Linked DNA regions of Homo sapiens: region 1 is linked to region 2. The links are contacts of gene promoters, found by promoter capture Hi-C in human tissues and cell types (Jung and others, 2019). All regions are on one chromosome and are shown on one strand. Each heading gives the region's core, a stretch centred on a gene start or on the middle of the fragment in contact. The rest is flanking DNA. Distances are from core to core; before and after follow the strand shown. Region 1 holds the start of MAP3K14 (mitogen-activated protein kinase kinase kinase 14). Region 2 holds the start of MAPT (microtubule associated protein tau).

What was found. The method cuts DNA at HindIII sites, captures the fragments that hold promoters and counts their contacts. A contact is called where the count stands out against the background at its distance.
Region 1: a fragment that was not itself captured here is called in contact with the fragment with the promoter of MAPT in region 2 in 1 of the 25 tissues and cell types used here (aorta).

What each region holds. Positions count from the first base shown.
Region 1 is chr17:45,311,379-45,317,980 of GRCh38, forward strand. MAP3K14 (mitogen-activated protein kinase kinase kinase 14) reads right to left here and starts at 5,642. Exons shown (of 16, transcript NM_003954.5): 1 at 5,582-5,642. The HindIII fragment of the contact is 4,566 bases long and covers 2,660-6,602 here.
Region 2 is chr17:45,891,214-45,897,689 of GRCh38, forward strand. It overlaps MAPT (microtubule associated protein tau), which reads left to right and starts at 3,341. Exons shown (of 13, transcript NM_001377265.1): 1 at 3,341-3,473. It overlaps MAPT-AS1 (MAPT antisense RNA 1), which reads right to left and starts at 4,300. Exons shown (of 2, transcript NR_024559.1): 1 at 4,267-4,300. MAPT-IT1 (MAPT intronic transcript 1) reads left to right here and starts at 4,570. Exons shown (of 1, transcript NR_024560.1): 1 at 4,570-6,476. RefSeq lists enhancers at 3,284-4,169, 4,170-5,055, 5,942-6,476. The HindIII fragment of the contact is 9,010 bases long and covers 1,548-6,476 here.

The DNA of each region.
Region 1 (6,602 bases), core at 3,693-6,192, 580 kb before region 2:
TCAAGCCCTCCTTGTAGTTGGTCCTGGACATTGCTTATAGATGTCCCTGACCATAATCGGTCAAGTTCAACACCAACTGCACTAGTCCAGAACAGTGTCTGAAGAAAATCTCTGCGTTAATGGACACCTGATAGTGGCTTTAGCAGAAAGAGCGTCAGGAGAAGCTGTAGTAACCAGAACCTGGGAGGGAGGGATGGCTCAGGAGTACCCCCTGCTGCTTCTTTCTTGGTACAAATCCTGGTCCTAGAAGTGTAGACAACTGAGATGGTGGCAGGCTTGGGATTCCTAAAGCTTTCTGAAATCCAGGGTTTAATCTAGCCTTTACAATCGCTGGAGCTCTGCAGAGACTCCAACTCAGGTGGCTGAAAAGGAGGCAGGTGGAAAAGCGTTCCTAAAAGGTTTTTCACACCAAAATAGGGCTTGTCTCTCTGCTCTCTGCCAAGGGATTTCCCAGCTCCCCAGGGCCAAAGCTCCCCTCCTGCTTCTTTGCTGACTGTCACTGGAAGCAGGCCATTTTCCACCCTCAGGGTGGCTGGACTTAGGAGTCAGTGACACTGCTGATCTGGGCTCTGTGCCCCGTCCACGATCCCCCCTCCGCTGTCAGCCCACTGGCCCCAGAAGCCTCCTGTTTACCTCCTGCCCCCTGCCTCCATAGCCCTGGGGCTGGGATGAGGCTGATTTGTGGCAGAGGGCTCCTCACGAAGGTCTGCTCAGGACTTTCTCTGCAACTGTGCTGGGGAATAAATCGCCTGTCACCTACACCCCTGCATGGGTGACTCACCTTCCAGAGAAAGTGCTCTGCTCACCTAAGCAAAGCTGCTTGGAAAATGACTAAGGCACCTATCAAATGCACTCTGTGGGGCCAACCAGTTATGGAGCAAGGTCCAGGCACACTCTGCCTCTCACCTCCAGCCTGAAGTCAAGTGCAGAGCTGCCACGCCAGGCCTGCTGGTTTCATTTTCATCTGAACCGAGCTCCACATGAGGCTTGACATCCGGTGATCTATTTTTTCTAAAAACTAGCTTCACTTTAGAAATGACTCTTCGGCCATCAAGTCAGCTTCCCCAAGAGAAAACAAAATGTTATTTAAAGGGAACAGTAGCCTGGTGAGAGCCTATATTTTTGTTTTGTATTAAGGTGAAAAAAGACTTTAAAATATAACATGAAACTTTTTTTTTCCCTTGTGAGATTAAAACAAACGTTTTTCTTTCAAGAGATGGGGTCTCGCTATGTTGCCCATAGCTACTTGACCTCCTGGGCTCAAGTGATCCTCCCGCCTCAGCCTCTCAAGTAGCTGGGACTAAAGAAACACACGTCACCATTCCAGGCTTCTTGTGAGATTTAAAGGGGAATCTGCAAGTCCTTGACTGCAGATCGTGGGCCCCCAGACAGAGTCTCAGAGAGAAGCTGACAAAGACATCTTTACGAGGGGGAAAGGGTGGTGAGCTGGGGATGCCATGTGGTAGTGGGAACCTCATCCCACAGAACCAAATGTTCCCTCCTGTTCCCCCAAAGAACAAGTCCTTGCTGATCTACATGCCATACAGTATTTTCCCTTTCCTCACCTCCAGGATTAATGCAGGAACCTACTTGATCACGTGTGGGACACAGGAAGCCCCTAGACAGGCCTAGCTGTGTCTCCAGCTCAGAGTTAGGATTGTCAACTGGGCAGAGCCTGGACCTTTGTAGCCTCATTTGGAGTATGGTGAGGGCAGTATATAGTGTAAGACAGGGAGAACCCGAGAGCTGAAGCTTTTAGACTGAAGGACTGTCCCCCTAAAGGTCCTACTGAGAAAATGACTCTGGCCTGTCAGGCAGTCTGACCCTTCTTGACATCATCTTACAGAAAACAGGTTTAGTCACAATGCAGTAATTGGCAACTACTACTGCTACTATTACTACTACTACTACTACTACTATTACTACCACCACCAAACACCACCAACAAGAACAACAACAACAACAACAACAGTTACAGCCTCTATGTTCTGTGCTGGGCACTGGGCTCAGCACTTTACATATCTCCTCTCATTTTCTACTCAAAACAGCCCCATGAAGTATTTCTGATCCCATTCACAGATGAGGCACCTGATGATTAGAGAAGTGAAGTGATTTGCTTGCGGGCACACAGGCAGGCCGTGGCAGACCTCGACCTGACCCAGGTCTCTCTGACCTGACAGCCTCAGCCACCACATGTGACACGGAGACACCAAGGACTTGTTCTGTTGCTCTGGACAAATCACGGGCTCTCTGCCTTTGTTTCTACATCTGGAAAATGGGCACAAGCACACCTGTCCAGGCAGCAGGCTATTCATCTTTTGGCCTTTTATTAATTAAAAATCAATATCAATTAATAATTGATTGGTACAATAAATAAATAAAGCTGCTACCCTGGTTTCGTTATGTTCAAAATTGACATGTTTGGGGGAAGAAAATCCTTATCGTTTCATGAGCAAGGTAGTAGAAAAAGCAGTGACCTAGATATCAAGAAAAGGGGGTTTAGATTCTGAGCAATCCTGTCTGTTTCTCCTTATGAGGCTTCACTTTTCTGATCTTTGTCCCTGCCCTTCTTCACATGAGTATGGTGTGAAAATACAAAGACTGGCCATAAAATTATTCTTGATGCCACATAATTTCAAGGGATTTCTATCAGGGAGCTGAGGGATTAAGACATGTAGAAAAGCAAGAAGGGAAGAGGCTCCTTTAAACTAGAATACAAAGAGCACACCGGCCACTGAAGAAAAATGACTTTTTCTGCATTGTCATTCAGGCAGTCATAAGCCCAGAACAAAAAAATCTCATACTTCAATGTCCTGCTCAGCTCAACAGAAATGCTCCCCTACAATTTGCCCTACGTCTGGCCTTCCCTTTTTGGGCTACTACTTTCAGCATTTTAGCCAGCATCACCGAGTAAATGCAAAACCTTCACACATGCATCACTTTGAATGCCCACCCAGCTCTTGCAGATGCTCAGCCCCATTCTGTTCCCTTACTAGGGAATCCTGGTGTGTGGAGACCAGAGGGGCTGACATCCTTAGAGCTCCCTAAATCCACTGACATGGAATTGTCCCCGGCCCACCAATTTCACACTGGTGCCATCAATAGTGCCCATAATGCTCAGATGTTTCCAGTTTAACTGAAATACTAAAATGGGGCAAACAGGAAGCATCAGACACAACTGTGGTAGTGACTTATTAATCACGAAAGCAGAATTTTAGTTGCATTTTAACCTTTTGCCAGGAAAAAAAAAAAAACAACCTTGAGATGATGGAAGCCATTAGTAGAAGTACGCTGCCTTTATGCGTATTGGGCTGACTTAGACTTTTTACTTAGGACTGACTTTGCTTTTAAGATTTCTGAACTTTCCCCCCAGAAAGAACATCTGTCAAACCAACCAATATGAATCTGTCAGCTCTTCATCGAGGCAGGCAGGCTTGTTAGGAAAGCCCATGTGCTGTCCATTGAGACAGGAAAAAAAATAGGAAGTTAAAAGTGCCTTCACAGGCCAAAGTGATACAACACTGTTCAGAGGGTGCCAACAACGAAGAAAACAACCCTGGATAAAGCTTTCATCTCTTTCACATCTCCGCAGATCTCTCACCAGACCCTAGCCAGGGATGAACTGTTATCAATCACCAAAAAAAAAAAAAAAATCACAACAGTTGCCGAGGGCTGGACAACCAATCAGCGCAAGCCATCTTCTCAGCAGTAAATGATATACACATATTCCAGGCAGATCACAAAGGAGTCAGTGTTCAACAGGAGAACCAAAATGAGGAACCAAACCTTCATCTGTTGAGGCGAAACAGCCCAACCAGACATTTTTGTTTAATAGAGGGAGACTGATTTGGCAGGGTCTCTGTGGTGCCGCTCCCACAAACTCTTAACAGACAATACCAATGACAAAAAACCCCCTTCAGAACTGCTTCTTATAATCAGAAAACACTCAGAAGATGGCCTGAAGCTTGGCAGCGTCTTGCTGTCTGATTTCACAAAGAGCTGGTACACATACCTGGGTACTTATCTCTAAAATTAGAGTCAGAGACGATTACTTTTATTTTGAGATCTTCTGAGAAGTTCTCCACACCCTTCAAAATAAATAAGGATGTCCGAAAGGTGTCTGAAAAATTCAGAGGTCTGGCATCGCTCCAAAGAAACTGATTGATATCACTTAAAAAACACCAAGAGTAAATCCAAACACAACCAAAGTAAGGCAAGCACTTTTTAAGTGTCCTCTCACATTAAGAGCATAAAAACCACACCAAAAACTTCTCCCTCCTTTCTGCATCTCAGTTCTATAATGTGGTCCTGATCTAGGATTCTGGGAAAGACCCATCCTTAGTCCCAGCTATGAGGCATCAGGCAAGATATATACCACCCCCACTCCCTCATACACACCTGCCTCAGGTGCCTCGCCCATAAAACAAGACACTACAATCTGTCTTACCACACAGCCATCTGAAGGAAAACGGAGCTCACAGGTATGAAGACACTAAGCAAAAAACACATCACTAATGTTAAGATACTGTCTCCTTCTAATCTTTCAGAAAGACCATGTTTCTAGTCAAGGGGTTTCCAACATTTTTCTTGGAATAAACTCCAGACTCCTATTTTATATCATGACCTCACTCTAATCATTTAATTTCATGTGCTTTTAAAGTCCTTAATTAAGTCATTGGTGTTCATTGTCTCCAGCGATCAAAAGTAGTTTTACCATTTACTTTGCTGATGTATGTACCTTTTCACCACTTATCCTCTCCCTCATTCATACCTCCAGTCCACCCTTTAGGGCCGAGAGCAACTTTTTAACCTCGACTAGGAAGGAAACACTTTTTCTGAAGCTACCCAGCACTAAGGAGGCTCCCGGGCAGGTGGGAAACGTACGTACAAGTGGCCCCTCTCTGCCTGGTGCCCAGTGGCTGCAAGATGCCAGGGCCACGATGGGTTTCCAAGATGGGAATGTTATATTTGAACCGACAGATAAAGTCCCGAGTTGGAGAGCCCAGAAGAATTACAGAGGAGGACTGGGGTCCGAGGGCGGAGGGAGGATGCTGCGGGCGGCCAGCACTGCCCCGCTGCATGCTGAGGACAGGCTTAGCTCCTGCTCCCCGCCTTGAGGTGTGACCTGAGAACTTCCCATGAAAGGCCGGGAGGGTTTCACGCCAGGGCAGATGCCAGGGCGCACTCCTGCAGGAGACACGTCCGCCCCGCGGCAGGCGAGCTCCATCCTGGGGGCACTGGGGCGCAGAGCAGGCGGGCGGGCCTGGCGGCGGCGCGGGGCACTAGTGAAGGGGAAGCAGGCGGCCCCTGCGCGCGCTCGGAGCCAGCGTGTGGCCAGCAGGAGTGCGCGGCCTGGAGGCCCGGGGCGAGCGCGGCACCGGCAGCGCGTGCGAGGGCGCGCCCGCGGACCGCTGCGAGTGGGTTGGACGGGGTACGTCGGACTGCGCTGGCCTGGCCGCCGACCCCACTGCTCCGGGGCGAGGGGCCAGGCCGCAGCCCAGCCCGGGGCTGAGAGGCGATCCATCCCAGCCGCTCCCTGGTCGCCTCGCACCGGGCCCCAGGGTCCCGCCCCGTCACCTACCGGCCAAGCGCCGATCTCCCCAACCAAGCGAGTGTTGCGCTCCGCTCGCCCGCGATCTCCCGCCGCCGGCCGCCGACCGCTGAGCTCCCGGCCCGTGGTCGCCCCGCCCCGGTCCCGGGCTCCGCCCCCTCGCCTTCTCGGCCGCCCCCGGGGCCACGCCTCCCCCGGAGGCTGTAACTTTGCCTCGCTTCGCGCCTCCTTTCTTTGGCCGCACCGCGACCCGTGGCCCCGCCCACTCCCCTACGCCAACCAATGAGACGGTCGTCCCGGCAAGCCCGTCTTCCCGCTCCCTAGCAACGATTGGTTAACGAGGCCTGGTTTCCAGAAATGGGCACTATTTCCGGACGATGTTTGTAGAAGGGAGATCGCTGGGCGGGCGGACTGACAGAAGGCGGAGGCGACTAGGGTGTTGGTGGAACCACACATGCGCCCTCGGCTTCTGGCAGTCTTACCAGCTGCGTTCTCGAGGTTACGGGAAGGAAGGGCGAGTGTGCGCATGCGTGGGCACTCCCTGCCACTGACTTCGGTTACCTTGGAGACAGCGAGGCGCTCTCCCTCGTGGGTCGCGCGCGTTCCGCTTCCTCTCTGCTGCCAAGCGGTGGCGGCTGAGGCGGGAGGTGGTGGGGGTAGAGACGTTTTTATTGAGCTCTTACCGTGTGCCTGGTCCTGTAGAATCCCTGGAATGAGTAAAGAAGGTTACAGTGCCTGCCCTCGAGAAGCTTGGGGAGCCAAGGGCTTACAGGGGCCCGACCTGTGGGTTGAAACCCAGGTACAAAGAGAGCATGTGGGTGCGTGGCGTGGTACGAGCGCTGAGCAAAGCATCTGCTCTCTGGGTTTGCAGACCACAGAGCCAGCAAGAGGATGAGAGCTTGATGTATGCAAAGAAAGGACCTGGAGTTCAGAATATGCATTGAAGTGTCAACAGTGCTTCTTTCTGAATGGGGGTCGGGGGTGGGGAGTAGGGAAGGTATAGAAACTTTTTCTAACTTTTGCCCCTCTGTATTATCTAGTGTTTCCACAC
Region 2 (6,476 bases), core at 2,091-4,590:
ATAAAATAATGTGTAGCAAAAGCATTATTACAAAGATGATAATGAAATAACTAGTATTTATAATAGTATAATAGTATAGTATTTATAATAGTATGATAGTTTAATGACTATTTGTCAGATGTTGTGTAAGAAACTTTATACACACACACACACACACCTCATTTAATTCCTGTATCAATCAGGATACAGGACGCTGTGGTAACAACTCCTCAAATCTCGGTGGCTTGCACAACAAATGCTTATTTCTTTTTTTTTTTTGACACCAAGTCTTGCTCTGTAACAGGCTGGAGTGCAATGGTGCAATCTCGGCTCACTGCAGCCTCTGCCTCCTGGGTTCAAGCGATTCTCCTGCCTCAGTCTCTCGAGTAGCTGGGAACACAGGCACGCGCCACCACATCTGGCTAATTTTTGTGATTTTAGTAGAGATGGGATTTCACCATGTTGCTCAGGCTGGCCTTGAACTCCTGACCTCAAGCGATCCACCCACCTCAGCCTCCCAAAGTGCTGGGATTACAGGCATGAGCCACTGCGCCCAGCCCCAAATGTTTATTTCTTGCTCATGTGACATGTACTTCCTCGAGTTTTTCCTTCCTGAGATCTAAGCTGAAGGAACAGCTCTCTGGAGCCACGCCATTCTGGTGGCGGAAAGGAAGAGTAAAAGTGGTAGAACCTTGCAATGCTCTTGAAGCGCCTATTTGGAATGTCTACATCATGTAAATGGTAATGGACAAGTATGTATAATCCCCACACCAAAAAAAGGGGACACTATTGGGGACAATAACCACATTTCAATGCTGCAAGACGGATATTGACTGCACCCCCTTCCCACTTTCAGAAAGAAGAAGAGTAATTTTGCTGAACTCCTTCTAGAGACTGGAAATGTCCCTTCCAGTTGGGGTGATTAGGGAAGGCTTTGGTAAAATTTGAGCTAGAGTTTGAAGGTTAGGTAGACTACTGGTGGGTGAAGAAAGAACAAGGACCTTTGTAGGCAAAGGAAAACCTCAGAATTACAGAGGTGGAAAAAGAGTTCTAGTCAAGCCACTTCAGCTGGCTACAGAGTAGGTGGGAAAGAAAATGGGAGGACAAGGGCTCAGATGATGGGGGGTTGGGGCATTGGGGGGACACTTGAAAGCTAAACTAAGGGGTTGAACTTAATTTAGGAGGCAGTTAGAAGCTTTTACATATTTTTGAGCAAGAGAGTGACATAATTAAAATGATCTGGGCCAGGTGTGGTGGCTCACACCTGTAATCCCAGCACTTTGGGAGGCTGAGGAGCTTGGGTCACCTGAGGTCAGGAGATCGAGACCAGCCTGGCCAACATGGTGAAATCCCGTCCTACTAAAAATACAAAAATTAGCCGGGAGTGGTGGCATATGCCTGTAATCCCAGTAGCTGGGAGGCTGAGACAGGAAAATCGCTTGAACCCGGGAAACAGGTTGCAGTGAGCCGAGATCGTGCCACTGCACTCCAGCCTGGGCAACAGAGCGAGACTCCATCTCAAAAAAACAAAACAAACACACACAAAAAACCAAAAATAAATAAATAAAATGATCACTTCTGAATACTGATCTAACTAGGGGTTGCAGGGTGGGCTGATATAGGGAGAAACTGGAGAGCAAGGAGATCACTAAGGTCCCTACATGTCCAGAACCAAGATAGAGGTCTTGAACTAGGATGGTGGCAGTTAGAACAACAACAACAAAAAGTCAATTCCAGGCTGAGTGCAGTGGCTCATGCCTGTAATCCCAACGCTTTGGGAGGCTGAGGTGGGAGTTAGAAAGCAGCCTGGGCAACACTGCAAGACCTCCTCTCTAAAAAAAAAAAAAAAAAAAAGTTAGCCAGGTGTGGTGGTGCCCACCTGTAGTCCCAGCAACTCAGAAGGCTGAGGTGGGAAGATTGCTTGAGCCCCAGGAGTTCAAGCTTGCCGTGAGCTACGATTGTGCCACTGCACTCCAGCCTGAGCAAGACCTTGTCTCCAAAAAAAGGTCAATTCCACTGACTTTTCTAAGGTGTACACCATCAAGGGGCAGCTCCATCTCCAGGCCATTGGCTCATGAGACATTCTGTAGTCAGAAGGCTAGGGCAGATTGCTTTGAGCAAGCCCCCATGGTGGTTCTCACTCCTACTTCTTTGGGTATATGCCCCTCTGTTTAAAAATAAAGTTAATATGCATTTAAAAAAAAAAAGGAGAAAAAGGTCAGTTCCAGAAACTGTGTGAATAAAGCATTTTACTTGCTTTTTCTATTAATCTATAACATATGTTGATTTTTTAAAAAGAATATAAGAGCTATGCAAATTGGAGCTTCAAGACAACTTCCCATCTCCCTAGGAGGAGATGGCTGCCCTAAACCCCCCTACATAGAAATCATCCCACTGCTTGGGCTTAAACTTGATGTTGGGGAAATGAAAAATCCAAGCTAAGGCCGAAGCCTGGGGCCTGGGCGACCAGCAGAATGAGGACCACTGGTCAGTTTCAGGCTGAGGTGCGTCTTCCAGGGGACAATCTCTAGCTGGCCCTTAAACATTCAGACTTCAAGCTCTATTTACAGCATAAAGGTGTTTCAAAAGACGTGATACAAATAACTGCAAATGCTCTGCGATGTGTTAAGCACTGTTTGAAATTCGTCTAATTTAAGATTTTTTTTTCTGACGTAACGGTTAGATTCACGTTTCTTTTTTTTTAAGTACAGTTCTACTGTATTGTAACTGAGTTAGCTTGCTTTAAGCCGATTTGTTAAGGAAAGGATTCACCTTGGTCAGTAACAAAAAAGGTGGGAAAAAAGCAAGGAGAAAGGAAGCAGCCTGGGGGAAAGAGACCTTAGCCAGGGGGGCGGTTTCGGGACTACGAAGGGTCGGGGCGGACGGACTCGAGGGCCGGCCACGTGGAAGGCCGCTCAGGACTTCTGTAGGAGAGGACACCGCCCCAGGCTGACTGAAAGTAAAGGGCAGCGGACCCAGCGGCGGAGCCACTGGCCTTGCCCCGACCCCGCATGGCCCGAAGGAGGACACCCACCCCCGCAACGACACAAAGACTCCAACTACAGGAGGTGGAGAAAGCGCGTGCGCCACGGAACGCGCGTGCGCGCTGCGGTCAGCGCCGCGGCCTGAGGCGTAGCGGGAGGGGGACCGCGAAAGGGCAGCGCCGAGAGGAACGAGCCGGGAGACGCCGGACGGCCGAGCGGCAGGGCGCTCGCGCGCGCCCACTAGTGGCCGGAGGAGAAGGCTCCCGCGGAGGCCGCGCTGCCCGCCCCCTCCCCTGGGGAGGCTCGCGTTCCCGCTGCTCGCGCCTGCGCCGCCCGCCGGCCTCAGGAACGCGCCCTCTTCGCCGGCGCGCGCCCTCGCAGTCACCGCCACCCACCAGCTCCGGCACCAACAGCAGCGCCGCTGCCACCGCCCACCTTCTGCCGCCGCCACCACAGCCACCTTCTCCTCCTCCGCTGTCCTCTCCCGTCCTCGCCTCTGTCGACTATCAGGTAAGCGCCGCGGCTCCGAAATCTGCCTCGCCGTCCGCCTCTGTGCACCCCTGCGCCGCCGCCCCTCGCCCTCCCTCTCCGCAGACTGGGGCTTCGTGCGCCGGGCATCGGTCGGGGCCACCGCAGGGCCCCTCCCTGCCTCCCCTGCTCGGGGGCTGGGGCCAGGGCGGCCTGGAAAGGGACCTGAGCAAGGGATGCACGCACGCGTGAGTGCGCGCGTGTGTGTGTGCTGGAGGGTCTTCACCACCAGATTCGCGCAGACCCCAGGTGGAGGCTGTGCCGGCAGGGTGGGGCGCGGCGGCGGTGACTTGGGGGAGGGGGCTGCCCTTCACTCTCGACTGCAGCCTTTTGCCGCAATGGGCGTGTGTGTGTGTGTGTGTGTGTGTGTGTGTGTGTGTGTGTGTGGAGGGGTCCGATAACGACCCCCGAAACCGAATCTGAAATCCGCTGTCCCTGCCGCTGTTCGCCATCAGCTCTAAGAAAGACGTGGATCGGGTTCTAGAAAAGATGACTCCCTGCACGCCCCTCCCTGCACCTCCCGAGCAGTGATTCCGACAGGGCCTTCACTGCCCCTGATTTTAGGCGGGGGCCGGCCCCCTCCCCTTTTCCTCCTTCAGAAACCCGTAGGGGACATTTGGGGGCTGGGAGAAATCGAGGAGATGGGGAGGGGTCCACGCGCTGTCACTTTAGTTGCCCTTCCCCCTGCGCACGCCTGGCACAGAGACGCGAGCAGCGCCGTGCCTGAGAACAGTGCGCGGATCCCACTGTGCACGCTCGCAAAGGCAGGGTTCACCTGGCCTGGCGATGTGGACGGACTCGGCGGCCGCTGGTCCCCGTTCGCGGGCACGCACAGCCGCAGCCACGCACGGATGGGCGCGGGGCTGCAGGTGCATCTCGGGGCGGATTTCTTTCTCAGCGCTCGGAGCGCAGGGCGCCCGGCGTGTGCGCTCCCTGCCGGAGGCGCGGGGCTGGCGCGCAGGGCTCGCCCCTCACTGCGGCAGTGGGTGTGGACCCTGGTGGGCGAGGAAGGGGGAGGATAGGCTGTGCCTCCTCCCACTCCCGCCCCCAGCCCCCCTTTTTTTCCCCCTCGGAACGCGAGGTGCCATCTTTTTTCGGCGTGTCACGTCTTTACGGTGCCATGCCAAACCGGGTGGCCGGGCTTCATAGGACAGGGCGGGGCCTGGCATTAAAGGGAGGGGGACAATCAGCGCTGAAATCTTGGCGTTTTGCTGCTGCGGGCGTGAGCACTGGGGGCGTTCGCCCAGCACCTTCTTCGGGGGCTCTTTGCTTTGTCTGTAGAGGTTACGTGATCTGCGCTCCCAGCCCTGGTTTCTGGCTTTTATTCTGAGGGTGTTCAGTCAACCTCCCCCCTACGCCCATGCGCCTCTCTTTCCTTTTTCGCTCCTCATTTCCGAGCCCATTGTTGGATCTCGAGGCTTGCTGGGTTCGATGAACTCGAGTCAACCCCCCGACCCCCGGCACGCATGGAACGGGCGTGACCGCGCGCAGCCTCGTCTCGGAGTCTGCCGGCGCCGGGAAGCTTCTGAAGGGATGGGATTCGAGTCTCCGTGCGCGCTGCGGGCGGCGGCAGAGGGATCTCGCCCCTCCCTACACCCCAAGTGTCCTGAGGGCCACGCCACACCAGGTTGCCCAGCGAGGGACGCTGGCTACCCATCCGGGGATGGGTGGGGAGCCCTGGCGGGGCCTCTCCGGCTTTACGCCCTGTTGCTTCGCCTGGCCGGAGAATGTGAGGAAGGGGCATAAGGTTACTGGTGCTTCGGCCACACCCATCTTTCTGAGCCCACTGGACTGGGCGCAGAGGGGGGATTGCCATGGAAACCACAGGTGTCCGGAGAGGGGATCTTGGGGCTGGCCTCACCCCTTCCCTGCGGAGATTGGGGACCCTGGGGTAGGGGGAGCCGCGCCCAGTCGGCCTCCTGGAGGACACGGGAGGAAGCCCCGAACCCCCGCGCCTGAGGCTGTTTCTGATTGGCCCCTGGAGGCCGCAGACACGCAGATAGGCGGCCCTGGGTGTATTTTTATTAATATTATGTCCGTACTGATTAATATTATTTATCTTAAATAAATTTCACCCGTGTCCAAGTTCACCGCGCCCCCAAAACCGAGTCTGGGGCGGCAGGGGGAACTCCTGGCCAACGAATCCATGCCTCGCCCTCCTGTGATGAACCTGGTACGCACGGTTTTCTGGTTAATTCTATCGCTGAAAACTGGTGCGGGGGGCGCACTTCTGAGACGGAAGAGCATCTAGGAGCTGAATCCTCCACGCGGGTCGCCCAGGTTGATCTGAATTTCTGGGGAATGGCTTGGCTGCCCGCCCGGGACCAGGCCGACCCTCCTTGACGGTGGCGTAGAGGGCTGGAGCCTGGGTACTGCGAGGCTCCTCGCATGGCTGGGCCCGCCGCGAGGGGTTGCAGAGCGGCTCAGGGATCGATTCAAGCATCGTCTCTCCTCCCTCGCCCCCAGACAGAGCTGGGCGCGGGGTTCCCCTTCCAGATGGAGCGAGGGTCTCGGGGTGGCCCCGGAAAAGGGGAGCCCGCGGCCACGGCTACGTATTGCCATCTCGCGAGCAGAGATGTCACCTCCTGCCTTTGGAGGAAAGGGAGCCCGGTGGGGATGAGCGCATTTAGCCCAATGCTGGGAACAAAGCGCACTCCGCGCTTCTGCGATTTCGCTCCATTTTGAAATGTGTTGGCGCTTTGGTGGGGCCGCTGCGGTGGGCAAGGCCGGGGGCGCTGTTAATGGAGGAACCTCAGGGGGACGGTCCTTCGTAGGAAACTCTATCCTGGCTCTGCGCGCGCTTTAAGGAAATGGCTTCCCTCCAGGACCTCGAGGGATGCAGCTTTTGCGCGGATGACGGTGGGGTGCTGAACCAGCCGGTGCGCCTCTGGAAATGTCTGGGCACGGATCCTGGGGCCATCGACGACTCCTCCCCATTCCCAGCAGGCGGGAGCTCTTACATTCCGAGCGAGTGACCCCTCTCAC